Regions from separate parts of the Homo sapiens genome. Here regions 1, 2, 3, 4, 6 and 7 are each linked to region 5. Evidence: promoter capture Hi-C in 16 types of primary human blood cells and fetal thymus (Javierre and others, 2016). All regions are on one chromosome and are shown on one strand. The core of a region is centred on a gene start or on the middle of the fragment in contact, and the rest is flanking DNA. Distances in the headings are between cores, read along the strand shown. Region 1 has its middle 28 kb from the start of ELF5. Region 2 has its middle 8.8 kb from the start of ELF5. Region 3 has its middle 16 kb from the start of EHF. Region 4 overlaps EHF (ETS homologous factor). Region 5 holds the start of SLC1A2 (solute carrier family 1 member 2). Region 6 has its middle 17 kb from the start of LINC02707. Region 7 has its middle 12 kb from the start of LINC02707.

Region 1 (3,491 bases), core at 819-3,318, 880 kb after region 5:
CTCCCCCACCCAGCAACACAGTTTCTGTGTGAAAATGTCCAAGCATCTTAATGATTAAAGAGCCCTGTGTCATTTCCAGATGGCTGTAGCTTCTTCCATGAAAAACCCAATAGGTTTCAACGCTTTTGCTTTTTCTTAAGCAGAGTATGCAAAGTATAATTTAACCTTCTTGTAACTCGGGACATTCCATTGAATATTAATTGTTGGGCTGTGCAGGAATGTCCTATGCCACCTAAATTTGCTTCCCATACGTGAAACAAGCCCATACTTGAGCGTTCAATTGTGCGTTTTGTAATTTCACTGTTCTTATCGCTATCAGAGGGTCAGGTGTCATTTCTGCTTTCAGTATGCTTACCTCTAACAGCTTCTTCCCCACCTCTTCTAACCTGTTCTTTCTAATCAGCTATGGTTAAAACAAAAAAAAACTTGTTAAAATTGTGCCTAAGGTAAGAATAGGACAGAAAAGCTTCTATCTTAGTAAACTGAATGTCCTTTAGAACAATGACTTGTGACTTCTCTACTGCGGTATTAGAAGGTCTCTTCCCATCTTCTTCATTCATTTAACATTTACTAAGCACTTGCTATGCCAAAAAAGAAAAACCTGGACTGGCTGCTGAGAACAAGAAGATAGATAAAACATAGTCCCTGCCTTCAAGGATTGCATTTAGAATAAGAGACAAGTAAGTAGATATAATGATGCCACCATGGTATAAGCCCTGTGACAATATATGTACAAAGCACAAAAAAAGCATTTAACTCTGCTGTGGAGAGAAGCAGCAGTCAGGGAAGGCTTCCTGAAGGAGGTGGTGTGTGGTCAGGAAAGGCTTCTCAGAGGAGGTGACATGTGAGCCAATTCCTGAAACATCCATTGACAAGAAGTCTCTCTGTCCCATCACCACCAAGACAAAGACAGACTGCCAAAAGGACACACCAGGAAAATGCAAAAGCAAAGAGGCATAACATAGCTCAATGAGTCTGGGAACCCCAAATAGTTCAGGGAAACTGAAGTATGTGTGTGCTTGTGGGAAAAGATGGGAATGGCAGCTGAATCTAAGAAGAAAACTAAGTTAGCAAATCGCTCATCTATTTTTTAAATGCTTGAAGGAAAAATAATGCAAATTTCCCAGAGCAAATTGATAATTAACTTTATCCCACCCATATGTATTTCATGAGCCAAATCAACTTGCTGCAGGGGAGAAAAGAAATCACTAGCAGTGAGCAATTCCCATCTGCTGGACATGCTGCTGTAAGAGCTTTACATGGATCATCTCATTTAATTAACCCAACAAACTGGGAATTCATATTATGTCTATAAATGAGGAAACTGAGGCAAGGAGAGGTTAAGTAACTTTCCTGAGGGCCCAGAGAAAGAAACAGCAATCTAACAACAGAGACAGGGACCTTAGCATTTTGGTTTCCGTGGAGTTGAAGTAGGTGAGCTGGTAGGGCCCAGGTCTAAGGGTGTGAAGAAGGAAATGAGGTGAGAGGAGGAGAGAGAAAGAGAAACAGCATGAGTGAGAGTCAGTAAAATAGGGAGAGAAGTGCAGGAGTGAATGTAAAGGAGGAAAGAAGAGACATTGCCATAGTTTCCCATGGGAGACCCCCTAAGCTAAGGCCTAGGGCTGGAGGCCCCACCGCCCAGTAGACCCTTTGGCAAACACCAAAGGAGAGTGGACCAAGCCCTAGATTCCCATATGTAGAGCCCGAAGGTGCCAGCCATGTAAGTGAGGGAGGAGCTGACCAGCAGCCAGAACGGTGAGCATGAGACTGAAACAGGAATGAGTCTTCCACCTCCATGACCCAGAGACAGTCAAAGGAGATGGGACTCGAGAACTCCTGGCTGGATGAGCTCTAAAGAGCAGTCAGCGCAGATCCCTTATTCTATCGTTGTTGAAACTGAGAGAGGCTGTGAGATTTGCCCACAGACTTCCAACACTAATATGTACTTTTTCTCTGTCTGCCTAAAATTACTCAACTGGTAAGAGAAGAAGCAGAACTAAACTCTAGAGCTCCCGATCTCTTGCAATCCGAATGTTTGTCACTAGCCCTTCCTTCCCTCAGGAGCAATTGCTTAGCCAAGTTCTGGAGACTGAAGTTTAGGACGCTCACAGGGAGAACTACTCTTCCAAAGGTCACAGCTTCAGGGGCAGAAGCAGAGAGGGTAGAAGGCTTTGTGAGTGTAGCAAACCTCGGTTGAGCTCATGAGGAACAGACATTTGTGTGTTACTCCCATGAAGTACCGGATGAATCCTAATTCTTTCTCATGCTTTTCTTGAATAATCTGGACTCCCACTGACTGAGCAAGGGGAAAAGAATTCTAGAAAAATAAGTGGTGAAAGCCTAGAAACCAGAAAACCTTTTGTAAGGAAATTTCATCAGGGTGTCCTGAAAACATTCTGTGTAATGCACTCTGCAAAATGGTCTTCTAATATTCAGAAGCATGTTCTAGGATTGCCTTGCTGGCTGCTAAAATTTTAACAAATACATGCCATCTCTCACTGTGCCCTGCTTCCCTGACTTCTATCCCTGGAACCCCCTGGACTTTCCCACAAGCCAGCTGGTAAAAGTTGCCTGTTCCATCGGGGGGGCTTCCAGAATCTCCAGGATAAGTTCTGATTGGTCCATGCTTGCGCGAGTACTATTTGTCAAATATTTTGAATATCACCTCTGCTTACAAAAACTCTGCAGTTCAGTTTGAGTAAGTTATGTGACATTAATGCTATAATTACTATATGTATACGCTTTCCACCAACCAGGTACAAATATCTATTGAGAATCCACAAGGGTCAAGCCCGGTCCTCAAGCACCAAAAGCAACAGGGAATAAAATCTGACATGGGTCTGTGCAGGGTTTGTGGAGTTTCCCCACTAGTGGGGAAAGTTCTAGGCTGGACCCCCATTGCCAAACAAGGAAACCTACTATAGACATACAGTATTAGCTAGTGATTCTCAACTGGGGCTGGTACAGTCCCTCTCCAGGGCTTCTAGAAAAGGGGGAGACATTTTCAGCTGTTGTAATAACTAGAGGGTGCTACTGGCTTTCACTGGAAATGCAAAAGACAGTCTCACAAAAAGAAAAGTTGTCCTCCCCAAAATGCTAATAGCACTCAGGTTTACTAGAGAAAAAATTAGAATCAATCAACATTAAACCACTATTCAACAAAGTGTTGTGCATATTGAACCACCACCTGCCAGAGTTTTTTAGGATGCTCGCCATTCAAAAATTGGGCAGAATCTACGGGGCAAAAAGTTCTAAGAATCAAATGGGCAAAAAGAATTTAAAGGGGAAAAGTTCTATTTACAGAATCCTACTTTACAGTCAGACAAAGTGTTGCATATAACCAATGCTTCTCCAACTGGAGTCAGGCAAAACGTGCTATATTCTGAACAAAATACCTACAAATCAAAATATATATATGTATATGTTTACTGAACACTCTACTACTACCAATCAAAGGCTATGGATCATGAATACTGAATTTCAGCCCAGTA
Region 2 (3,945 bases), core at 457-2,956, 900 kb after region 5:
TGGGACAACCCTCTTTAGGAAGCAGGACCATCTTTCATAGCTACTTTTTCCTATTTAGTCTGCCTGTGTGATGCATTTTTACTTTTACCCAATTTCATCCAGATAGGGAATGCCGGGAGTCACAAAGCTATGCACGGCACACTGGAGCTTGGGCTGGAGTCTCTTGGAGACAGCTCTGCATGTGGCTAACGTATGGCCTGGCCCCAGGTAGAAGAATGGAAACAGATGTCGGGTCTCCTTGCATGATTTTGAGATGCCAGTGTGCCCACCTGCAGAGTGGGACCAGAATGTGAGCTCATTCAGTTGGCTAGAATCAGAACTCATTCCCGTGTCTTGGGCATTTTACTGTGATCCAGTCATTCATATTGATGCATACCTTGCTTGTCTGTACAGACGTGCCTTCTGCTCAGCCCAAAAACATCCGCTTAGATAGTGGACTTTTGTTTGCATCCTTGGCTAAATTCAGCTGCTGTAAAAAGCATAAGATAGAGCTGAGACTCATGAGGATGCCGATCCAAATCTCCAGGCCCTTGGTATTGAACGCCAGTTTAAAATCAAGATTTCTTAATTCCCGAAAAATGGGAAGTGGGGTCGGGGCCGGGGGGGTGGCGGACAGGAGAGGGGCCAGATTAGGGGCCTGTCTAGCTGTTTCCAGACGCATGCCTTCTTTAAAAGTAGTCGCTGTCTTTAGCCCTAGCATGTTACCGACTGACTTGTCAATGTCAGGGTAGCCACGCAAAGAATCTCCGGCATGTCATTAACCTCGTTCCAACATGTAATTAGCCTGAAAAGCCTCCTTGCTGCCTCCATTCAGCATTACATCATAAAGAATAAGATATTTTACTATTTGCAGCACACGGTGAAGACTTTAAAGAGTTAATTATGGCTCACTGGAGTCCGTCCCCAAGATCCCAAGACCCAGAAATTAAACTGATTATTTTCAAATGTCAGTCTTCAAGAGAGCATTCCAGGCAACCTCCTCTGTGGAATCTGAGGTTGACGCTGGTTTGCAAGGTGACCCACCAGGATACACAAGGGTGGGTTGGAGGAGGTTATTTGATTTCGGCCTTCCTCTTGTATTTGGCCATGTATTTTCAGAGATCGCATCATCTGTACAGGCTTGGAGAGAAAAGAAAAGCAAGGAGAGCTGGAATTCTACTTACCTTCTTGGTTCCGTGGGGTGAATCCACCTAAAGCCATCTGTAATCTCTGAGCTGGAGAGACCAGCAATGTGGCCAGAGTTCAAAGGGAGTTCAGCTGTAATCTGGATGTTACAATCTGAGCCAATCTAACCATGCAGGCTCTGAGGACATTATTATCAGTCAAGTGTAATTATAGATAAAATAGTTTTATTAATCGGCTTCCTAAGGGGACTGTGTTTATCTGATGGCTGTGTGTATGATGTGTGCATGGGAGAAGAGGGAGGGGTCTGTGCTGTGTGTGGTTGGTCTGTACGGTGGGGAGGACAGGGTGTCTGTGGGGAGAGTGTGGTGGATGTAGGGGGTGTGTCTAGGTGCTAGGTGAACTCTCTGTATGAGGGATGGAAGTGTATGTGGTAGCACTGACAGCATGCACACATGCATGTGTGTGTCTGCTTGCCCAGGTTTATTCAGCTGGACTTGAAATTGTGCCTGTTTTATCCACTATACCTTGGATTTGTCATCACCCTTTTCCCAAAAAAGAGGCTTTTCTATATCTGTACAATAATTAGCTAGAGTCTATAGAGTTCCTAGTTGCAAACTCCACCTGCAGATGCCCTCCTTGGCTGCTAACTGTCAGCCAAATTTTCAAATCTTATCTCCAGACCTATCATGGTTTGTCTTAAATGTCCATCACCTTAAAAATGTTTGTCAGTTGCAAAGTATCTTGAATGGGTAGGGCTCCTCCTGAATATTGTTTGGTCTGGCCTAAAGTCAACTTCACTCAGCACTGGGTAGGAAAAATGAACTTTCAGGGCCCAGAACTGCAGGTTTGATTTAAATTTGATCAGGCATCAGTGGGGAGGTGGGTATCCAGTAACACTCCGAGGCTAGGTTCCCCCACAGTGAAGCTGAAGGCCGAGAAACTGCCCAGAGACTGTGGAACAGGCACAGCCAGCCTGGTTGCCTCTGCCCTTCCTGGCAATCTACCTGAATCATTAGTGCCTGGACCAGGCCTCTCCACACACAGCCTTTTTCTGCTGGCTGACTGTGCAACTTGCTGCTCACCCTAGCTGGAACACTTGACCCAAATTATTCCCCACTTCAGAGGGCCTTGTGCAAAATCTGCCCTCTGCCTTTAACTTGGCCCAAAATGACAGCTGAAACCTGGGGTGGATACAGCCTGAAAGCCAGAAACACCAAGTGGCTGCTTCCTTCCTGTAGAGGTAGATAGCATCCATTCTCCCATGGGCACCTCAAAAAGGCAAACTCACCAAAGCCCCACTATTAGGACTTCTGATGTCACACCTGTTGGCCACTCTGCAGAGTGATTTGCTGGGATTCCTGGAGTTTCTTTGCTCCCAGAAAGGCACATAAGGGCCCGGGGGAAAAAGAACAGTTTAGATAAGGAAATAAACATTTTATAAAACTACTGCTCCATTTAAGATGAAAGAGGACTGTTGGCCAAATAAAGTGGCCTTCTCCTAACTCCCAGGGTTTGTAAACTTTTGATGGATTCCAAATAAACTAAAGATGAAAAAATGGATGAATGAATATCTACCATGTGCCAGACACATACACCTTTATTATTTCAATTGATCTAGTGAGTAGTTAATATTATTTTCATTTTGCTAATTTAGAAATGGAGACATCACAGTAATAATCATTTATTGAGTATTTAATATATGCCAGGCACTGGGCTAAGTGCTTCATATATTACATATACCATGTTATCTCATTTAATTGTCACCAAAACTGTATGAAGTGACAATTTATTTTCAGATGAAGAAACCAAGTCTCAAGGAGATAAGTAACTTGGCTACCAAGGGATAGAACTGAGATTTGAACCTACATCAATTAGACTCAAATCCCAGTGCTCTTTCTGTTACTGGTTTTTCTTTAACTGCCTTCTTATGTAGCTTATGTTCCTTGCAAAACCATGGATATCTTTTTAAATTATTGCATCACTCAAAAATATTCAGCCAAGTTCCACATCTCACTGGTTCTTTGGAACCAGAGAGATATCACTGTCCATACAACATGAAACAGAATCCTACCCATCTCCCTTCACACATTGAGAAAGAATTAAAACATAGTTTCATGAACAGGGATGTGGGTAAGAGTGATGTCCAGGACATTGAAGACACCTGTCCAATTGCTTCACAATAATTTCCAAAAATTCCAATCCCAGACACTTACCTTAGGGGTGGACAAGTTCTAAGGGGAGCCCACTTAGGCCTACGGCTTGGGGTACAAGTGAGTCCATGTTGACATGAACCTGTGGGTGAGTCTTGGCAGCTTCTCAATTTTGAGGCCTCTCCCCTTGGATGTGTCAGTACCAGAATCATTGGATTTCTGTTGAGATATGATGTTAAACTCTGTAATAAAGTGACACATCAGAAAACTTCATAATAGTTTTGTAAAAGCATAATACCTAAATTCTTATACCATTCTGTGTTTGCAACAGAGACTTTCTCTAAACAAGTTCCCAAACAGAACCAAACTCAGGAAATTTCAGTGTATGATTTGGACACGTAAACTTTTTAATGGCCAATGAAACTGTGGAAGATGGTAAAAGATTGCAAAGACATGGATAAAAACAACAACAACAACAGTACGGGCCGGGTGTGGTGGCTCACACCTGTAATCCCAGCACTTTGGGAGGCTGAGAAGGGCAAATCACATGAGGCCAGGAATTAGACACCAGCCTGGGCAACATGGTGAAACCCTGTCTCTACTAAAAATACAAAAATTAGCTGGGTGTGGTGGTGTGAGCCTATAATCCCAGCTACACAGGAGGCTGAGG
Region 3 (3,887 bases), core at 560-3,059, 810 kb after region 5:
AACCGGGGCCTCCTTCCTATGCCTGCTCTGTTGTTTGAGGATGAGTCATTTGTCACCATCTTGCTGTGAGCTGCATGTGAGCTGAGCCTAAACACCAGTTTGGTGCTGCCCAAGACCACTATAGGGAGCTGTCCCCAGAGCCACAGTTTGGAGAAGAGGAGATCCCAGAGGCCTTCCTGGCCTTTCTATAATGTGCATCTCCTTGTTCAACACCCTTTGATGGCTCCCATGCCCTTTGGAGTAAAGTCCAGCGTCCATGATACTATTCACAAGGCCCTCTGTGACCTGGCACCTACCTATTTCTGCAGCCTCATCTCCAGCTGTCTCTCACCTGATTTTTACATACTGGCTCCTTTCATTTCCCCAAACAGGCAGGCCATTCTCCCATTCTCTTTCTCTCTGCTTCCTCCCCACATTATTGCATAGACTGCCCCACATGCCTAGGTACATTTACTCCTTGTCTTCCCTGGCTAACTGCTGCTCATCCTTAGACCCCAGCCCAAACACAGCTTCCCTGGGGGGGCCTTTCCTGATGAGCTCACCCCGCCACCATTCAGTCCCCACCTGAGTTGTTGCCTCTCTGCTCCAGAGTCTTCACCTCTCCAGCACATACCACACTGTGTGGTAACATCTCATGTACTTCCTCTCTCTTGAGCTGGACTATCACAGCAGCAGGGGCATTTTAGGAATCCACAAATATGTATTGAACGAATGGAGAATGACATGGTGTGGATGTCACCCCACAGCAGATGACAGGTATCAGACTTCAGCAATGGAACTTAGCCCCACCGGCTTGGCGGGTGTCACGTAAATCCCACTGCCTTGGTCCACATGGCCAGTTTCTCTCTGTCAATGCCTAGGAAATCGTAAGTCTTGAATGACAGGCATGTTGAAAAGGGCAGTGACCAATGGAAGATTGATTCATAGTGAGAAATTTCTGGCAGGTTCTAACCACAACTCCCTAGGGATAAAAACAGAACAACCTCAGGTTTACAAGGTGGTAATAGAACCAAAGGGCTGAGACCAGTGTCAAGAGGTCATTGAATTCATTCCCCTGCCTTCAGGCAAGGCTGGCTCAGTCACAGACCAGTGGGTGTTTCCTTATATTATTAGCAGGAGTAATTATTATTATTATTATTATTTTCATTAATAGCAGTATACCAAGGTTTTTATTAAAAATAAGCACTCACAGGGAACATGGTGGGTGCCTGCCTGCATCACCCTTCCCAATACTCGTAGAACACAGAATCTGGTCTCAACAATGTAAGGTCTGACTCCACCTCCCTCATGTCAGCATGATTGCTCAGTGGGAGAATTGAAGCAAGCAGGTTCTCATTTAGAAGACAGCAAAGAAAATGTTCCAGAATCAGGCTTTGGGCACTCTCTCTCACAACAGCCCAAAGCATATGAAAAGTCATGGGGCCACCATCAGGCATCCCCTTTGCAATTTATAATCGGCCCAGCCGTTTCCCTGTGCAGAGGGCACGCAGTTCAGAGTCCTGCCCATCCATGACCTCATCTGATCCTCACAGCAACACGTGCACCCAAGGAATGGGAATAAGTTGAAGGTGGGACAGGCTGTAGGTTGGGTCACCAGAGTTCTCAAAACTAAGTGGGTGAGTGGGCTTGAGTACAGAACGAAGGCATTCGATCACCAGTCGGACCCTCTGACTTTATATTCCGCTTCTCAGTCTAAAAAGAGTCCACGTAGTCAATAAATATGTGAACACCTACTATATTCCAAGTACTGTTCCAGAGTCTAGGAATAAAGCAATGAACAGATTTTTAAAAGACAAAACAAAACCAAAAACTCTGCCCTTGTGGAGTTTACATTCTGGTGCTGCGGTATTTATAAGCCACTTTCAGTAACATGGTTTTAGATAATAGGTGAACCTGGAATTAATCAATATTGAATCACATCATGAGAAATGTGTGCCCTTTCCAATTCTCTTAATTCAATCCTTCACAGACTTTAGAGGAGGTCTCAGTTGGCTGATATCACCCTTCAGTGAAAGGAGCATAGGCTGCAGGATCCAATGAGAAGTTAATTCCAGCCTTGGGTTTCATCCTATTTATTAACAGTTACCTTCTAGGTGTAGCCAGGGTTGCTAATTTTCCATTAAAGGTAGTGATATTATTGCCTTGTAAATAAATGCACATTCTTTAATAAGTGAGTCATTAAAAAAAAAGACCTAAGAGTCTAATAGGACAAGTGGTAAATGAATATAGCAAAACACTGGATGTTTAGAAGGCTTGAACTAGGTGGGGCCCTCAGCCTAGAAATAGCCAAGGGCACTTCTGCTTCTAAAGACCCAGAAAAACTAAGGTTGCCTCACTTTTAGAGTGGGATAATCTAAAGGTTCACTGCTTCTTTTCTTTGAGACAGAGTCTCTCTCTGTTGCCCCAGCCGGAGTGCAGTGGTGTGATCTCCGCTCACTTGCAGCCTCTGCCTCCTGGGTTTGAGAAATTCTCATGCCTCACCCTCCCGAGTAGCTGGGATTGCAGTGCACCGCCACACCCAGCTAATTTTTACATTTTTTTTAGTAGAGACAGGGTTTCGTCATGTTGGCCACGCTAAACTCGAATTCCCAATCTCAGGTGATCCACCTGCCTTGGCCTCCTAAAGCGCTGGGATTACAGGTGTGAACCACTGCGCCCAGCCACACTGCCTGATATTTTAATTAATCCCACCCCTGTCACCTTCATCTCTCCACCCACTCTCCAGCAGCCACTGCACTCAGTGCACACCATCTCCAGGAGGGACACCACGAGGGCTAAGCCTGGAGCCTGACAGCAAACACCCTACCCTTCCTCCTAGCCGCCAAGGATTTCTCTCTCTTATCTCAATCCCCACACTTTCCCCGAAGGCAAAGGTCACTGCAGGAAGCTCCCCAAAGTTAATTAGCCCTCATTCTCGGAAGCCAACAGCCTCCTACTCTAAATAAGGAAGAGCCGTCCAGTCCCTTTGAACCCGCGTTCTCCTTAGGTAAATGGGTTCTGCACAAGCTCATTATCAGAATCACCTGGGAGCTTTACCAAACTACAGGTGCCTCGCTGCCTACGACCAATTTGCTGAATCAGTCATTTCAAGATGGTGCCCGGAAAGCTGTATTTTGTGCCCCTTTGGAGAGTCCAATGTTCAGCCAGATTTAGAAGCTGATATGCTTCATTGGAAACAACTTCTCCATAGGCTCTTTATTTGGCCAAGTAACAACCACAATTATCTTATCAAGGCAGGAAGTGTCGTTTAGTACACAGGCTTTGGAGTTGAGCAAACCTGGATTCAAATCCTGGGCCCACCACAAGGAAGTGACCGAGTGGCCTCAGGTTAGCTGCTTAACAACCCTGTGCCTCAGTTGCCCCAGCTATAAAATGGGGGTATCAATGGCACCCACTCATCATCAGGTTGTTTGAAGGATTCCATAATCTAATGTGAGCAAAATGCTCTATGCACTGGCTTGGAGTAAAAGCGAAAAAAATACCAGCCATAGTTAATGTGGATTGGTTTTATCTTGGTAACCAAAGGAGACTCAAAGTGGTTTGCAGGGAAGACAAGAGGAGAAGGGGACAGAGAAAAGTGAGAGGGAAGGCAAGCTGAAATAATTTTTGATGTTCAGATCTTATTTGCCCCTTTCCCTTTAACAAGTGAGGCTCTAAGGCCAGAGGCCAGGATTCTAGGTCATTCCTCACCCCTTTCCCCACCTTGTGATCTAGAGATCCCACACTGGATAGGTGGCCAAAGTTGCTGAGTGACACACAGATGTGGGGCAGACATTCGCCAAGAGAAATCATCTGAGTGGACCATTGAGAAGGGCAAGCGAGGACCCCTGTGTAATGTTAGTATTAAGGGAGCTTGGGAAGGCCCTACTCTTCCCTGACACACAGCA
Region 4 (3,974 bases), core at 668-3,167, 790 kb after region 5:
GGTGGGCAACGGTATACTCACTCCTAAAAGCTAGTCATGTGAACTGCCTGGAGGAGAATCAGTATTTTCTGCAGGTCCCTACTTGCCAGGCATCAGGACACAAGAACAGGAATGTGCTGCATACCCAATCACCCCAAGTCACCCCAGGTCTCCCAGGACCTCCTTGGTTGTGGTTTGCAGTTGACTCAAAACAAGGTTCAATTTGGAGGTCCCCCCTTAATATGGTTCATGCATCTCCCTGCTACCCACCTTCCCAATAAAAACCCTATTGCATTTCTTTCCTAAGGTCACAGTGAAGAACCAATGTTGATCGCCACACACACACACACACACACACACACACACAAACCAAAATCCCAGAATTTAATATCCATTCACTCTGACCCAACAGAAACTCACTGAAAACACCCAAATTGAAGACTTCCCTTGATGTTCATTCCACAAATTACTAATTATTTACTCACAAGCTTTTGTTCAGGTGCTTTCACATTCTTTGTTAATTTAATCTTTACAACAGCCCAATGCAGTAGATGTTATTAACTCCATTTTCCAGATGAGAAAACTTAGATGCTAGAGCTTATATAACTCACTCAAAGTCATTCAACTACCCAGTGGTAGAGTCCAGCTTAAACTCAGGTGTCTGGACTCTAAGTCCAGTGTTCTTTACACCACATCTCAGCAGCTTCCAAGCCATAAAATCTCTTAGCCTCCTACCCCTTCAGATACACATGCAGTCAAATTTTACTCCATCAACATTCCTTGACCCACAGCCTTCTGCCTAGTGGAATTAAGATGACTAAAAGGTGAGCTAGCTGCACTCTAATTTTCTAAGTGGGCATGATCAAGACAGAGGCTGAATTTAGAGTCAAATCTAGAGTACACTGCAAAGACAAAGCAAGTCTTATCATTAGTCAGCCTCATGACTAGATGAAATGAGGCTGACTAGATGAAATCATGACAAGATTGAAAATTGCTCTCATCTTTCAGACTCTGCTCACCTTATTGTCCAGAATATATCATCAGCCCTACTGAGGAGATTTTTTTTAAGGTTCCTAAGAAGAAGCCTGGAATAACCTCCACAAGATGACCATATTCTCCAATCTCCATTGCTCTATTCAAAAAGTAGAAGACCCTCTTCTTATTCCAGGAAAAGCTCAACAGACTTTTGGGGGATGTTGTATCAGGCTAAGAAAGGGCTGGACAGGCAACTGAAATGTTTTGAAGCCACAGTTGGGCCAACAAGAGCCCAGCCCCCAAGATTATTTATTGTGCTTCTGTGATAGAAAGTGGGGTGGAAAAGCAGCTATGAAATTTGATGTTCATAATTGCAACAACATCAAAGAAAAAGGACATTGAGACAAGGTCATACAAAGATAAAAATAAGTTGTTATGGTAAAATGACAGGGTTAATGAGGTGGTCTGTTAGTCTAAAAATCCAACTACTATAATAGGCATTTTGGTTTCTTTTTATTTTTGGCTTTGTTTTAATCAGAAAGCACATTTTGTATGCACCTATACTGGCCATATTTTAAATAAGTAGGCAAGTACCCCTAGTAACAACTAAGATGCTAAAAAAACAAAACAAACAAAAAAAAAGAAGGGAGGAAGCCTCCCAGAGGCCAGGGTGTGTGGTGAGATTGGAGGAGGAGAGATAATGCAGACCAATTGACCAGAACAAGGGGCCCGGCCCCGTAAAACAAACCAAAGACAGAATGCGGTTAGGTGCTTGTGAAATAAGTTTTCATAGGAGTATTTTACAGGGTGTCTCTTTTAAAACAAGGTCAATTAAAACCCTAGGAGCCTCTTTAAATGGGCCACCCTGCTTGGCCCTGTTGCAAGTTCTGGTTTCTCCAGATACAAGGTTGACGCTTTCTGGGCACATCAGGGTCTCCAGGTTAGGCTGCTCAGTGGCTGGGGCAGCCACAGGGTCTTCCTCTAGGAGAAGTGAGTCCACATACGTTCGATCTACTCAGTAAGTCATGGATAATCAGTCAAGCAAGCTCATCAGTACCATACAAACTCAGTAGACACCACGAGTGCCTAAATGTCCATTTTCTGGCGGGCTGCTTTGGCGTTTTATAGAAGACACCAGTAGAGCACCTGCCCCTGTGCATAGGCTGTTCCCTGCCATCACAAAACAGTCTGTTTCATCCACTTCTACATTCCCACCAGCTTGAGACACATGAGGCAAATTGGCAAAGCTGGGATGTTGTCATGGGAGTGGATTCTAACATCCTTAATAAAGGCTCCAGGTGTCAGGTCTTAGTACCTCCACTAGTATAGCCTTTAGCCAAAATTCTGAAGGCCCTAAAGAATCCATTTAAGGGCTCTTGCTAATCTTTCCTGCCTCATCCTTAGAAGGCTTCTCCCACCTGTTCTCAGCTCTCACAGATTCGTGCTTATCCTGCTGACCCCCAGGTACTCCCACCACCCCCAATCACCACAGCCACAGAATCTGAGGGTTAAAATGGATCTTAAAGATGGTCAGGTTCAAACCCTTTTGCCTAGAGGAGGAAACTAAAGCCTGGCAAAGGGGAATGTGTGCTCTGGGACACACAGCTCTGCCAGTGCTAGACCAGGTCCCTAGACTGCCGTCCAGCACACCACCTCACATCCCGCCTTCCCTGCACTGTGCTCCCATCACTCCAAAGCTGGAGTTCAAAATTCTTCAAGGAAGACTCTTAAAGAAATATTTCCACCCCCCTCTGAAGAATAATAAACATTTTAGCAAATAACTCTGAGGGATCCCTGGAAATTTCTACTTCAGCACATCCTGGTTTCCGGACATCAATGTCATTTGGCTTGAAACTATGTCCCACCCTAAGAATAGCTGTGGTGAGGAGCCATTCTCCTCACTGCACTGTTTGTTTCCTGCACAGCTTAGTAGCTTGGCCCTTTGAAACCCCGTTCAATTTAAGTAAACACGTTTTTAATAACAGCAAGATTGTTTGCTCTTTAGAACAAATCTATTATTTTAAAATCATATTCTTAAAAATTAGATATGAAAAATGTCAAATAAAGTTAATTATCTATGCCCTCCTTTCAGTTATAGAGCAAGAGATTTAAGAGAACCTGGGCAAGGTGTGGCTGCCCTCCTGCCTCTGTCTTCAGATGGCAATCCCCGCCGCAGACCCGGCTTACCCAAGCTGAAAGCCACAGCGCCGCGTTCGGTTTCCCAGTAACAAAGGCAGGGTGAGAATGTGGTCTCTAGACACCCAGGCTGCAGTGGAGCCAATGCCTCCCAACCAGGGCCCCACCCACAACAGAAATGAGTGTCACGTCAACTCTACCAGAGAGCGATCTTAACAAGAGAAATGGGCTGAAACGGCAGCAAAATGGTATCCCTGAAAATCAGGTTCAAGCTTTAGATTGAGTTCCTTAAAACCACAACATTGCTTCTCAAGTGTGTTAGCAGATTCTGCCACGGGATTCTTGCTCACCACCCCACCCCTAACCCAGAGGTCTTCGTAAATCACATCTGTATGAAAGGGCATAGAGATGACTCCATATGGAGGAAGGGAGAAAAGACAATAACTTCTCAATAATTTGTACAAGCTTCTATGTCTGTGTTTGATACTGTGACATGAAGCAGGGGTCTTGCCCTGGGCTTTCAGAAAAGCAAGATGGTCTAACGATCACAACCCAGTGCTCAAATCCCCAAATTTGTGGAGATTGGGTGGGTCGGGGGCATGGGAAAGATATAGAGGAAATAAAATATCGCAAGATTCCAGAAAGCGAAATTCTACTTCCTCAGAAGTGAACTTTGGCCAAAAGCACTCACGTTCTGACCTGAGACCCGATAGGAGCTCCTTCCAGTTTCCAATTCGCTAATTGAATGCAACCTAGTAAACCTTTTAACCTCTCAGTTTCCATTTTGTCTCATACCTTCAAGGAGTCAGAAAGATATTGAAAGAAGATCAGGGTAAAGTTGGTCAATTAATGGGAGCATTTAGGGTACCCATAAACATGGAATC
Region 5 (3,940 bases), core at 10-2,509:
TTCATTTAGTTCTCTTAGCACAGAGAAGTGGGAGAAGATAGTCCCATTTTACAGGTGGGATGAAGAGAGAGATGGAGGAATTTGCCCCAGGTTACTCAGCTAGAAGGTGGTGAAGAACTCAAGCCTTCGGATATCAGCGCCTGGCATTTAACTACCAATCGGTCCTGCTGGGACTCCGGCTCCTCTGGCACCATCCCCGGGACCTACTCAGAGAGTTTGCACGTGGCCGGTCGCGTTCCATCGTCTAACAAGGTCCAGCACAGCGCAAATCCGAAGATCGTCTACCCCGGGGAAAAAGAGAGTCTGTTTAATTCTCCTGTGGCCCTCCAAGTGAGTTCTTTTGGGTTCCATTGCCTAGACGAGGAAAGTGAGGCTTTGCCTGCTCTGCGCTCACAGGGTCGGCAAGTAGTGGGACCCTAGGTTCCTGCAGTATTCCAGAGATAATCAAAGCTGCACAGGTCTCGTCATTTTTATGCAAAGGCGTCCGGAAGGCTCGAACTCTCCCTTGCACAAGCCCATCTGTCTCTGTGCGCCGCCCCCGGGACACGGAAGCAGGCGGCGAGCAGCGCCGAGTGGGTGGAGAACCGTCCCCCGCCACTCACCCCTCGGCCAACTCTCCGCGCCTTCTCAGCCGGCACCCACGAGGCCGACCTCTCTCGGCCTAAAAAAAAAAAAAAAAAATCCCGGCCTCCCCTGCACCCCGCCCGCCGCCCCCAGGGAGCTGCATTAATATTAATCTCGCTGAATAATTGAAGGCCAGAGATTTATTCGAGCTTCGGCGGGGGAGGGAGCGCAGCTGGGCCGCGTTTAGGCTGCACCACCCGCGTGTTTCAGCCGCTCGACTCCGCTGGACCTGGGACCCCCAGACGTGGGAGGATGGGGTGGGTGTGCCTGCCTGTGAGTTTGGGGGTGAGTGTGAGCTGAAGCGGGTGCTCCGGGGAGTGAGGAGGGAGCGCCAGGGGCTGCTCCAGGGAGGCGGAGACGGAGGGGCATCCCGGGTCTCCGCGCGGTCGCCTGCGCTTCACCCCGCACGGGGTGACCTGGGGCCACGCGGGCTTCAGGGGAAACAATAGCTACTCCTTAGATCCTGGGCTCCTGCCACCGGCTGCCCAAGCCTTCCCGGACGAGCGGCGGGGCCTCTTTTCTTATTTGGCTAATTTATGGCGAGAGGCTGGGGGGAGGGATGGCAGAGGAGGGACCGCGACTGGAGATGGGGGCGGGGGGCGGCGGTTAAAGGAGTTGCCCGAGGCGGCGGCGCGGGTGATGTCAGCTCTCGACGAAAATAGAGAGGGATCGCCTGCAAATCCCCAGCTCCGGCGGGGCTAAACCTTGCAATCCCTCCCTGGCCGGCGCCGAGCCAGAGCGCAGCGGCCTCCACCGCCTCCCCAGGCGCGCACACACCCGCACACGCGCACGCACGCTCACCGTCCTCTGCCACCACTCTCTGCTCCCGCCACTCGCCGCGCCCGCGAGCCCCGCAGCAAAGCACAGGTGGCAGCGGCTGCAGGGGCGCATCGCCGGCGTGCGCCCTCCTGCAGCCCTGGGCGCATCGCTCTCTCGGGGAAGCCACCCTCGGAGCCCCCGGAGCTCCCCGCCAAGCGCCATCCCCGCGGGCGGAGGGGAGCGCGGGTCGCGCGCCGTGGAGAGCCGGGACGCGGATTAGCGCCCGCAGGAGCCTCCTGCGCCCGTTGAGGCGCTAAAGGGCTTACCCCGGAGGCGGGTGGAAGGGCGGGCAGAGGCTCCTCTTAAATACCGCTCCCGGCCGCACTTCGCGCTCACCCCGGCGTCCGCTTTCTCCCTCGCCCACAGCTGCCGGATAGTGCTGAAGAGGAGGGGGCGTTCCCCAGACCATGGCATCTACGGAAGGGTGAGGGGATTTTTATCTGTACCCGCGGGAAAGCGGGGTCACGCGCGGGGTGGTGGCGCCCCTATCCGGGATGCGGATAGAGAGGCGGCGGCGGCGGGCCTCGGAGGTGGTGGCGGAGCCGTAGCTTGGCTGGGGATGGGATGGTGGGGAGGGGATTGATTTTCTTTCCTGGAGATTGCTGCTTAATCCTTTGAAAATGCGAGAGGTGGAGGGTTGTTTTATTTTGATAAAAAGGGTAAGGTGCGCTGGGGGCCTGAGAGTGTGAGGAAGAAATCCTCTTGAGGTTACTTTTGGGATTTCAAAACAATAGGGGATTGGGCATAGTGTGAGCAGACACCGGGGTAGCAGCGCCTGGAGCGCGGCGCCCCAGGCCCGAGGCGGGCTTGCAGGTGGTGCCGGCTCGGAAGGAATGAGCCAAGACAGGGCCCTGGGGCGGGGCAAGGACCAGCGCGCGCGGCCTTGAACGCCAGGTTTGCAGAGTCGCCATGGAGATGCTGGGCCCGCTCCGATCGGTCCTTGTCCCTGGAAGGCGGAATCTCCCTGGCTAGCTCTAAGGAAGGGTGGAAGAGATTTGGGTGCTTCCCGGGAGGCGGGAAAACGTGTGGTTTGGGACAAGGGCAGGAGTCGCCAGACTCCAGCGGGCAGGGATAGCATTGGCTTCCCTATTCAGCCCGAGGATCTGGAGTCGTGTCCTGCCTCCCAAGATTCCAGCTGGCATGGGGAAAGCTCCCTCGCAGTGATAACTAAAGACAATTGTCTTTAGCAAGAGACAGAAGGGGCTGCAGGGGGCAAAAGGATTCTTTGAATACTCACACATCAAAGGAAAGGTCCACAGAGTCCTTGGACCAGTATCTCCCAGAAAACTTTTTGGGCTTCGTAGAACCTGAGTGGCAATGAAAAGACTGGGCAGCTCAGCCCTTTGGTTAATTCCCAAAATTGCAGTTACTCACTTGCAAGCGATCACAAAATCCATGTTATGTGAAAAGCAAATATCAGGGGCTTCTCTGGGCTCAAGTGGTGGTGTTGGCATTTTCCAGTTTCTCCTAAGAAATTTTACCAACTCCGCAGGCTTGTTTTAGGGGAATGGATCTCTAAACAGGCTGAAGAGCTGGTATCCAAAGCCAGATCTCTAGACTGCAATCTCCAATAGAAGGAAAATATTTCTAGAACTGTCTCTCTGTCCAGGAGAAGGAATTCATTCATTTTCTGTCCCCCAGAGTCCTTCCAAAGGCATCTGGCATCTTGTCATTGCATGAAATTTTGTCTCTCCCTTTGCCCTATTTTGCAGTTTAGACTTTTTTGATTATTATTTCTCCAAAAAGATGTTTCAGGAAGACACCTGTGTACAAGGAGGGTGGTACCTTGTGCTAAAACAGATCTCTAGAAATAGATACTAGGAGCCCATATGGATCAAGATCAGTGTCTTACCATGTTTAGTTAAAAAGGCTTTTATATTAGAAAAGATATGAAAGAATTTCTGGTTGCCTTCATGGACCTTCTAGACTTATCCTTGCTTGTAAAGGCTAGGGTGGAAAACATCTGTGAAAAAGATGGATGATATTAGTCTTCCAAATCCTGCATCCAGCTCACTCCCTATTTTGATGGCCAGATAGAGAAGGAGAGGTTACAACAACAACCCCAAACTAAGTAAGTTTATTTCACCTTTGTCCTAAATGAAAGCTGTCAAATGATGTGACATTCAATGTAGAGCCAAAGTGATTTTCGGCATTTTAGAAAGATTCCCATCCAATTAATCCCATCTTTCTGCACTGTTTATGGTTAAGAAAAGATTCATCAGAGGAACTTATATTTAAGAGAAGAAAGAATTGAAAAAAGTTGAACGGCTGGGAAACAAATATAGGATCTATGACCCATTATTATTTAACAGCAGTAACTGATGAGCAGGTGACATTCTCAGAAGCCCTGGTCTTTCCTTTCTTCTTCTCTTCTTTTCTTGCAGGAGCATTTACTGAGCACTTGTTGAGTGGAACTCACATGTGAGGAACTCCGAGTTGGGGGGATACAGAAATAGTCTGGGATTTGCCTTTTAGAAGTCTAGCTCCATCCAGTCAA
Region 6 (3,812 bases), core at 518-3,017, 830 kb after region 5:
TGACTCAGGAAATGATTTCCTAAATAAGAAACAAGAATCATTAACCATAAAGGAAAAAATAGTTCAATTGTATTCTATTAAATTTCACAAGAAAAAAAAGTTTTGTTATAAAAGGAAATAACAAAGTGAATACCTAAATTTTAATAATTGTTATCTCTGGGTGATTACAGGCTGAATTTATTTTTCTGATTTTGCTTATCTCTTTTTTCCAATTATTCTCTGACGAATATGGATCTCTTTTGTAATTTAAAAAAAAAGAAAAAGAAAAAACTAGAAAGTTGTTAGTTTTTGTTTATGTTTGTAATTAAGAAGAGGTGGTAATCCCAGCACTTTGGGAGGCCAAGGCGGACGGATCATGAGGTCAAGACCATCCTGGCTAACACGGTGAAACCCTGTCTCCACTAAAAATACAAAAAAAAATAGCTGGGAGTGGTGGCAGGTGCCTGTAGTCCCAGCTACTCGGGAGGCTGAAGCACGAGAATGATGTGAACCCAGGAAGCAGAGCTTGCAGTGAGCTGAGATCGCATCACTGCACTCCAGCCTGGGTGACAGAGCAAGACTCTATCTCAAAAAAAAAAAAAAAAAGAGGCGCTGCAAAGTGAAGATGTGGAATAAGAGTCTTCCAGACTTTACTCTTTCTTGGTTGCTAACCCAAAAGGAAAAAAATCCTAATGGTGGGATTTCAGGCAGTGAGGAAGGCGGATGTAGGTGGGATTTGTTGGTCATTGTGGCCTTTTTCCATTCAGGCACTAGAACACCATCCAGGCATTCTGCTATCCCTTGTTTAAAACCTTTCTGCTGCAGATTCACAATCTCTACTTCTAGAGGGAGATGCCCTTGAGAGGTCTTCTCCCCTCTCCCTTTTCCATTTATAGTCTTCTTTCTTAGATAGAAATACATTTTGACTCAAGTGTCTTTCATAGGGCTTAACAGACCTGGACATGTGGCACCAGTGGCCCTGCCCCACGTGGCTGTCCATCTGGTCTCCCAGTGACAGACACTGGAGCCCTCTCTCTTCCTTTGGTCACACCACGCCAGGACCTTTGTAGAATGTTTATTAGGCACACGTTTGACTCTGAGCAGCTTGAATATAAAGGACTCTTAAGATCTAAAGCGCAAGCAAAGAGACTTATTTTGGCTCTTGGTCTTTATAGTTATATTGGCTCTTATTTATTTCTTAAACATTTATTGGGCACAGGTAGTAAACTCATCATAGACCATGGCTCCTGAAGCCCTGATAATTTAATACCTGATTTCTGGAGTCTGGGGAAACATGGAAGGTGTCCTGTAGGATGAGGCAAATTAGCTGTCAATAGGCAGAAATGGCCAGCCATAGAGAAAAGTGGGCTTTAAATGGGTTTAGATATTCAAAAGTGCCTCATGATGGTCAGAAAGAAGTCTCTGGAGTAAGGATGGGCATTAGTAGCCCCTATACTCATCTCCACCATTAGTCTTTATTGAATACTTACTATGTGCCAGAGACTGCTGGCCAGGTACTTTACATACATCATCTCATTTAATACTCACAGCAATCTTGGAACATATATGATATTATCCCCTTTTGGAAGATGAGGAAATTGAGACTCAGAAAAGGTTAGGTAATTTGCCCAAGGTCACATGGTTAGAAGGGGGTGGTGTTGAGCCAGGAATCCAGTCTGTCAGACTGGAAATCCTTATCTCTTTTTCTGACAGTAACTACTGCTCTGGGCAATGACCGTCATTTGTCTACATCTTCACAAGATATTTCCATTTCCATTTCATGCACTTTTGAGGTAAAACAGGATCATTGATTTATGAAGACTGTTTTTATCTGACATCCATTTCTTCAGGACGACTTTCTGCACTGCAGACATTTGCCCCCTGTGATGATGGGGTCCTTGCTACAACATGCTGTCACAAGGTCTAAATGAGATCGTGCATATAAAACATGTCGCTCAGAGCATGACACAGAGGAGACTCTCAACACACTAGCTTCCATTAGGACTGTCGCTCCCTCGGTCCCAGCACTGCCTGTTCCTCTTTACCTTTGCAGGTAGTGGGGAAAATATACAAGGAGACCTAGATTCTGAGTGTTTCTTGGACACGGGTGCTGGCAGCTTTGTGCAGGAGTATCTCTCAACATCCCTGGAGTCAACATTCTGAATGTCCTGTGTGATGCTGATATCACCAACTCTGTAGACCCTGAGCCTGCTCACTATCACTGAGCCTTCACGTCAAAACAGGAAAATGATGAGAGGTGACTGGTGCTCCGGTAAGAAACTCCGATAAGTTTCTGCATCAGATCCTGTACATGAGAAAAACTGTCATGAAGAGGCAGCACAGCATAGAAGCTAGAAGATCAAATCTGGAATTACGCAAATCAGGGTGTGAATATTGGCTCTGCTCCTTCCAGCTCTGTGACCTGGGGCAAGTTACCTAACCTCTCTGAGTCTCTGTTGCAGCTGTAAAGCAGAAATAGTAATAACTATTTCACAGCTTTATTAGCAAAAGTGCATGATATAGTGATGTTAAGTGCTTAACACAGAGCCTGGTCCACAGGAAACACTAAACAAATGTTTGTTGTTATTATATCGTTGTTAAAAGCAAAAAAAAAAATAAAATAAAATAAAAACCTGCTATGAGACTTGTTTTGCAGATTAATAAGCAATTACTTTAAATGACTTTTCTCCCCAACTAGCTAAGTCTGCTGTTTGATAGGTTTGAACGAATCAGTCAGCTGTTGAAGTCTCACTGAGCGCATGCAGCATGCCCTGGTGTGTATAGATGCAGGGGCTTGGCAGGCCCGGAGGCCAACAGGCTTAACAAGGTGCGCTAGCTGAACACAGCAAGATGAGATGATTGAAAAGTCTACTTGAAATGTTTAAATACAAAGTAACTTGGCAAGGAGATAGAATCAGGACAGCTGACCTGCTCTAGGCCTCAATTTCCCCATCTGCACAAGAAAAGGGCTGGACTTTATGTCGCTTTCTTGCGTCTCTGACCTTTATGAGCGAAAGAGTCTGATTCTGCCAGGACCATTTTAGCTGCCCTATGAGTGCATCTGGCAATTCCTAGTTCTGCATGGTCTGGTAAAACTTGGCATCTGATGCCCCTCTATAAGTCAGAGTTTTGCAGGGCTCATGCAGGCCCACCAGCTAGGGCACATCTCCCCCACCCCCAAGCCTCCTGAGGACACGCCAATTCCAACATCTCCCACCTCCCACCATACGCAATCACAGGAGACATCATTCCAACTGGAGTTCCCAGTCCACGAAGAAAAGAGAGATCTTCTCTAAACAGGGTCCTGTCTGTTTCCAGCATAAACCACCTGAGATGTTCAGAAGGAGAGTTCTTTCTTTCCTCCACAGCTTCGGAAAATCATTCTTTTGCACGTTCAGAGGGGGAAAAGTTGGCAACAAAACTTGACTTTTTACCAGAATGAAAACTTTCTTTGGGGTTAAGGAAACATTGCCATCTGGTGGCATAATATAGAAATAACTGGACAGAGTGATGAGTTTCTAACCCACAAAAGATGAAGTCACACAATTCCAATCAGAAAGAACTAGAAGGGTCCTTAAAGCTTAGATCCAATGCTTTTACTTTACTGAGTAACGGAACTATTGTATAGAGATGGCTTGTGAATTTCAAGACTAGAACTCAGATCTTCTCAACTTTATGTAATTCAGCTGTCTCTCATCTCCACAACTCACTCCACACCCCAACATATACACACCTCATACTTAGGACTGAAATGCTTTAATAATTCAGGCTGGCAGGACCACGATCGTTTTCATCCTGCATGTGCCCTCGTGCTTTTTATCAACATCATGGGA
Region 7 (3,885 bases), core at 89-2,588, 860 kb after region 5:
CCTTTAATCTGAAGGACTCTGCAAGGTCTAAACTCTTTTATCCCTATTTTACAATGATGACACTGTCGCAGAGAAGGTGAGTAACTTACCCATGACACACAGCCAAACATGCTGGTGCTGGGATAATAAATATCAGTTAGTAGCAATAATCCTAGATCTGACCTGTGAGCACCTTGAAAGTAGACATCTGGATTTGGGTTTAGCTTTTTTACATTTTGAAATATTTCAGACCGGGCATGGTGGCTCACGCCTGTAATTCCAGCACTTTGGGAGGCCAAGGTGACTGGATCACTTGAGGCCAGGAATTTGAGACCAGCCTGGGCAACATGGTGAAACCCCATCTCTACTAAAAATACAAAAATTAGCCGGTGTGGTGGTGCTTGCCTGTAGTCTCAGCTACTCAGGAGATGGAGGCACAAAAAGCTCTTGAACCTGGGAGGTGGAGGTTGCAATGAGCCAAGATCACACCACTGCACTCCAGCCTGGGAGACAGAGTGAGACTCTGACACACACACACACACACACACAAATATATATATTTCAAGTGTACAAAAGTATATATGATTACAAATGCCTGTGTAACACTCAACCTAAGAAATAAGATATTAAAATTGAAGTCTCAGCACACCTCCCTTACTTTTATTCTTCCACCTTCCCCAAAAAGTGCCAGTTGTTTATTTAACAGTATTTATTGAGTACCTACTCCATGCCATGAGTGGTTTCCAGATGTTGAATTGTTTTAAGCATTTTCCTGAATTGTGGGTTCATTATTTCCACACCTGTTTTATATTTTATCATATATTCAAGTATCCATTAGCAATATTTAGCATTAGTTGTATGGTTTGAAATTTTATACAAATGGTAAAATATTTATAAACGCTTTTGAAACAACACCTTGATAATCTTTTTGTTTTCATTTTTACAGACAGGGCTTCACTATGTTGCCCAGACTGGTCGTGAATTCCTGGGCTCCAACGATCTTGCCTCCTCAGCTTTCTGAGTAGCTGGGACTGCAGGTCCGCACCACCACGCCCTGTCAATAATCTTGTTTTTAAGAGAGACAGAGACAGATAGAGACAGACAGAAACACCCTATCACTATATTAGATATGGTAATATCAATAAATGCATTGAGAGATGAACTGCAAAAATACATTCCTTCCTAAGAAAAGATAGGAGCCTCTCATGTCATTCTGAACAATCTCACTTTAAATGGGCTTTGCAATAATTTAGTGGAGCTATTGGGAAGAGTTATGGAGGCTGATACTATGACCTGTTCTAACCAAAATTCAAGCTAAAACCACAATGAAAAATGATAGTGACAATAATATAGCTTTACATTTGTATAGTGTGTTATCATTTTAAGGCATTTTCATAAACATTACTATTTCTTGGGATGGTAATGTGTTAGTGAAAAGAAATTCTGGTGATCACCCACTCCAGAGGATTTCAGAGTTCATTTTCACAGCAAAACACATTTTTTTTCCGAACTAAATCTTACCTGGGATTTCTCAGGTTTAAACAAGACTGGAGAGTCCAGATGCTGTTCTCCAATCAGCCTCCTCCCCATCTCCTCTGTCCCTTAAGAAAACCATGGAGATCCAGGACTCTAGAGAAAGATCTGGTTCACACACCTTATTTTACAGAAATAAATATGGGAAGGGATGCTGAGCTTGGATCTGTTAAGTCTCTACCTTGGCCCTATCACGCATTCCTCACTGAATTCTTCCAATAGAGGTGCAGCAACATTAAGCGCCTTGCCTGAGGTCACATGGCTGTTTTACAAGTCCATGGGAACTTCAGTGAGTGGGTGGCTGAGTCAGGATTTAAAATCCATCTTCTAATCCCACGGGCAGACCTGCTGCCCTCTAAGCCAGGGGAGATTAATCAACTAATACATTTCAACCTCATTTCTCTTCGCTACACTTTAGTTGGATGGATCTTTCTGAGTTTATCTTCTAAAAGCAGGCTCAGTCCAGAGAATCTGTGACCTTATTGGACGAGATTGGGTAAAGATGTAGGTGCCCTGGAGGACCCAGCACATCCAGGCCTTGGCAAAGGTGGGATGTGTAGAATCTTTATGAAGCCTCCTTCTCTTCTCCCTTGGGGTATCCAGTCCTCTCCTTTCTGGTCCCCAGAGCCCTCTTGCTGATCCAGACGATCCCCTAACACCAATTTTCCTTTCTCATCCCTCCATACATGCCTTCAGCACATTCATCCCACATGCTGCTCCCTGAAAGTGTGCCAGTATAATCCAAGATGACTCATTGCTTAACCTACCTACTGAAATATGCATATCCTTAAGGTAGCTCAAAAACAGCATATTAATGGTGGAAATTTTAGGTGCCAAATTAGATCAGTCAGAGAGTTATTTATAGAGAAGGAACATTTTTGCTGATTCTCCAAAGATGCCACACAGATCTACAGGTTATGGTTCCAAAACACCTAATAAGCCATGTGTTCAGATTGGCATTGGAGAAGCTCTAAAATCTGTGTCTTCTGGCACTTTCAGAGAAGGAAAGAAAGATTGAGAACCAGGCTCACCCCAGCTTGAAACCGAAACACCTCCTCTTTTTACCATGAGTAATAGAAACAGCTAGTGCTAACCAAATATTCCATGTGCTTCCCAGTATTCCCAGCCTGCCTCACAGCTAGGTGAGCCACATGACTAGTTTTGGACACAAATTACAGGCATAAGTGACACGTGCCACTCCTGAGCTGAAGTGCTTAATGATACCTGTGCCTGCTCCATCTCTCTCTTTCTTCTCCTGCCTTGATGTCTTGAAGGTCATTTGTTCTAGAAGATGATATGCCTATAACAAGGAGGAAGGTCACCCAGCCTGCACCAGATATTTGGTGAGTGAGAAATCAACATTTGTCCTATTAAGTCACTGAAATTTTAAGGTTGTTTATGACTACAGCATAGCAGAACTTATCCTGACTAATATACCAGGGAAGGTGACATTTGCAGTGTTTGTGCTAAATAGGACTGTTGGCAGTAATTTCCCATTCTCTGTAACTCAGGAGCTAGAAAAAAAATCAATATACCCCTAAAGGCATGGTTCTAGAGGCAAATTAGATTCCCCCAATAATGCCCTTGTGTGAAGCATCAATATAATAGAGACATGAGTGCTTAGAGAGTTCTCATTCCAATGTCCAGTCACCTGTGCCATGAGTGCCAGAGGCACTCATAGTGAAAACATCAGGGGCAGCAGTTCCATAACATTTAGATCACAGCTACAGTGGAATGTCTTTGGGATAGTGCAATGATACCTATCCAGACTTCCACTCCCCCAGCCCTTAACAACAGTTCTTTAAGCTCCTAATTCCCTGAAATGAATCCCTCTCTGCTTGAAATACCTGGATTGGTGTCTATTTCTTTCCCTGATCTATGACTGAATCTTTGTTGCTTTCAAAAATTTGAAACTCTTTGAAAAATGATTGATAATATAGCAACAAAGAAGAAGATGTGGAATACTCAATTCAAAGGCTCAAACCTAGGAAAAGGCAGGTTCTCTGAGTCCTCTGGGAAAAAGCTTGAAAACAAAACAAAAAAAAAAATGTAGTAGGATGAATTTTCATGAAACTATGAATTCATTTTTAAAACATAACATAAATTATTTCATGCAAATTCTTCACATGACAGTTGAAGGAGGGGGCCCAGAGAATATAAATGCTTTCTCTAAGGTGGCACAGCCAATAAAGGGAGAGCTGTGTTTCAAACTGAGGTCCCTGAGACTCTGGCCAGTGCTTCCTCTGCCACATAATGCCCACCTTGAGTCTTGGTAGAGAAGATTAGGCTCACCTTCCTGAGCCACTAGAGACCTACCTGAGTGTTAGAGAGGAGATATATGTGGAATTGGTTACTCAGAGCTGGGGAAGTTCC

What was found. The method cuts DNA at HindIII sites, captures the fragments that hold promoters and counts their contacts. A CHiCAGO score of 5 or more calls a contact.
Region 1: a contact is called between a fragment that was not itself captured here and the fragment with the promoter of SLC1A2 in region 5, in 2 of 17 cell types (activated CD4 T cells and non-activated CD4 T cells). The highest score is 6.1, in activated CD4 T cells.
Region 2: a fragment that was not itself captured here is called in contact with the fragment with the promoter of SLC1A2 in region 5 in 2 of 17 cell types (activated CD4 T cells and non-activated CD4 T cells); the score reaches 8.1 in activated CD4 T cells.
Region 3: a fragment that was not itself captured here is called in contact with the fragment with the promoter of SLC1A2 in region 5 in 1 of 17 cell types (activated CD4 T cells); the score reaches 6.3 in activated CD4 T cells.
Region 4: a contact is called between a fragment that was not itself captured here and the fragment with the promoter of SLC1A2 in region 5, in 1 of 17 cell types (activated CD4 T cells). The highest score is 7.2, in activated CD4 T cells.
Region 6: a fragment that was not itself captured here is called in contact with the fragment with the promoter of SLC1A2 in region 5 in 7 of 17 cell types (naive CD8 T cells, naive CD4 T cells, total CD4 T cells and 4 more); the score reaches 12.0 in naive CD8 T cells.
Region 7: a fragment that was not itself captured here is called in contact with the fragment with the promoter of SLC1A2 in region 5 in 6 of 17 cell types (total CD4 T cells, activated CD4 T cells, non-activated CD4 T cells and 3 more); the score reaches 7.5 in total CD4 T cells.

What each region holds. Positions count from the first base shown.
Region 1 is chr11:34,539,613-34,543,103 of GRCh38, reverse strand. No RefSeq gene overlaps it. Among named protein-coding and RNA genes, the nearest start is that of ELF5, 28 kb to the right of the region's middle. The HindIII fragment of the contact is 3,200 bases long and covers 469-3,491 here.
Region 2 is chr11:34,520,621-34,524,565 of GRCh38, reverse strand. No RefSeq gene overlaps it. Among named protein-coding and RNA genes, the nearest start is that of ELF5, 8.8 kb to the right of the region's middle. The HindIII fragment of the contact is 6,939 bases long and covers 1-3,945 here.
Region 3 is chr11:34,602,722-34,606,608 of GRCh38, reverse strand. No RefSeq gene overlaps it. Among named protein-coding and RNA genes, the nearest start is that of EHF, 16 kb to the left of the region's middle. RefSeq lists an enhancer at 2,693-2,987. The HindIII fragment of the contact is 5,828 bases long and covers 1-3,887 here.
Region 4 is chr11:34,623,485-34,627,458 of GRCh38, reverse strand. The region is part of intron 1 of EHF (ETS homologous factor); the gene reads right to left. Among named protein-coding and RNA genes, the nearest start is that of EHF, 4.4 kb to the right of the region's middle. The HindIII fragment of the contact is 2,895 bases long and covers 470-3,364 here.
Region 5 is chr11:35,416,877-35,420,816 of GRCh38, reverse strand. It overlaps SLC1A2 (solute carrier family 1 member 2), which reads left to right and starts at 1,259. Exons shown (of 11, transcript NM_004171.4): 1 at 1,259-1,867. The coding sequence starts at 1,851. It overlaps SLC1A2-AS2 (SLC1A2 antisense RNA 2), which reads right to left and starts at 1,760. Exons shown (of 2, transcript NR_186310.1): 1 at 1,710-1,760; 2 at 1-281. RefSeq lists an enhancer at 1,113-1,613. The HindIII fragment of the contact is 13,046 bases long and covers 1-3,940 here.
Region 6 is chr11:34,586,054-34,589,865 of GRCh38, reverse strand. No RefSeq gene overlaps it. Among named protein-coding and RNA genes, the nearest start is that of LINC02707, 17 kb to the right of the region's middle. The HindIII fragment of the contact is 3,589 bases long and covers 1-3,561 here.
Region 7 is chr11:34,556,767-34,560,651 of GRCh38, reverse strand. No RefSeq gene overlaps it. Among named protein-coding and RNA genes, the nearest start is that of LINC02707, 12 kb to the left of the region's middle. The HindIII fragment of the contact is 4,398 bases long and covers 1-3,537 here.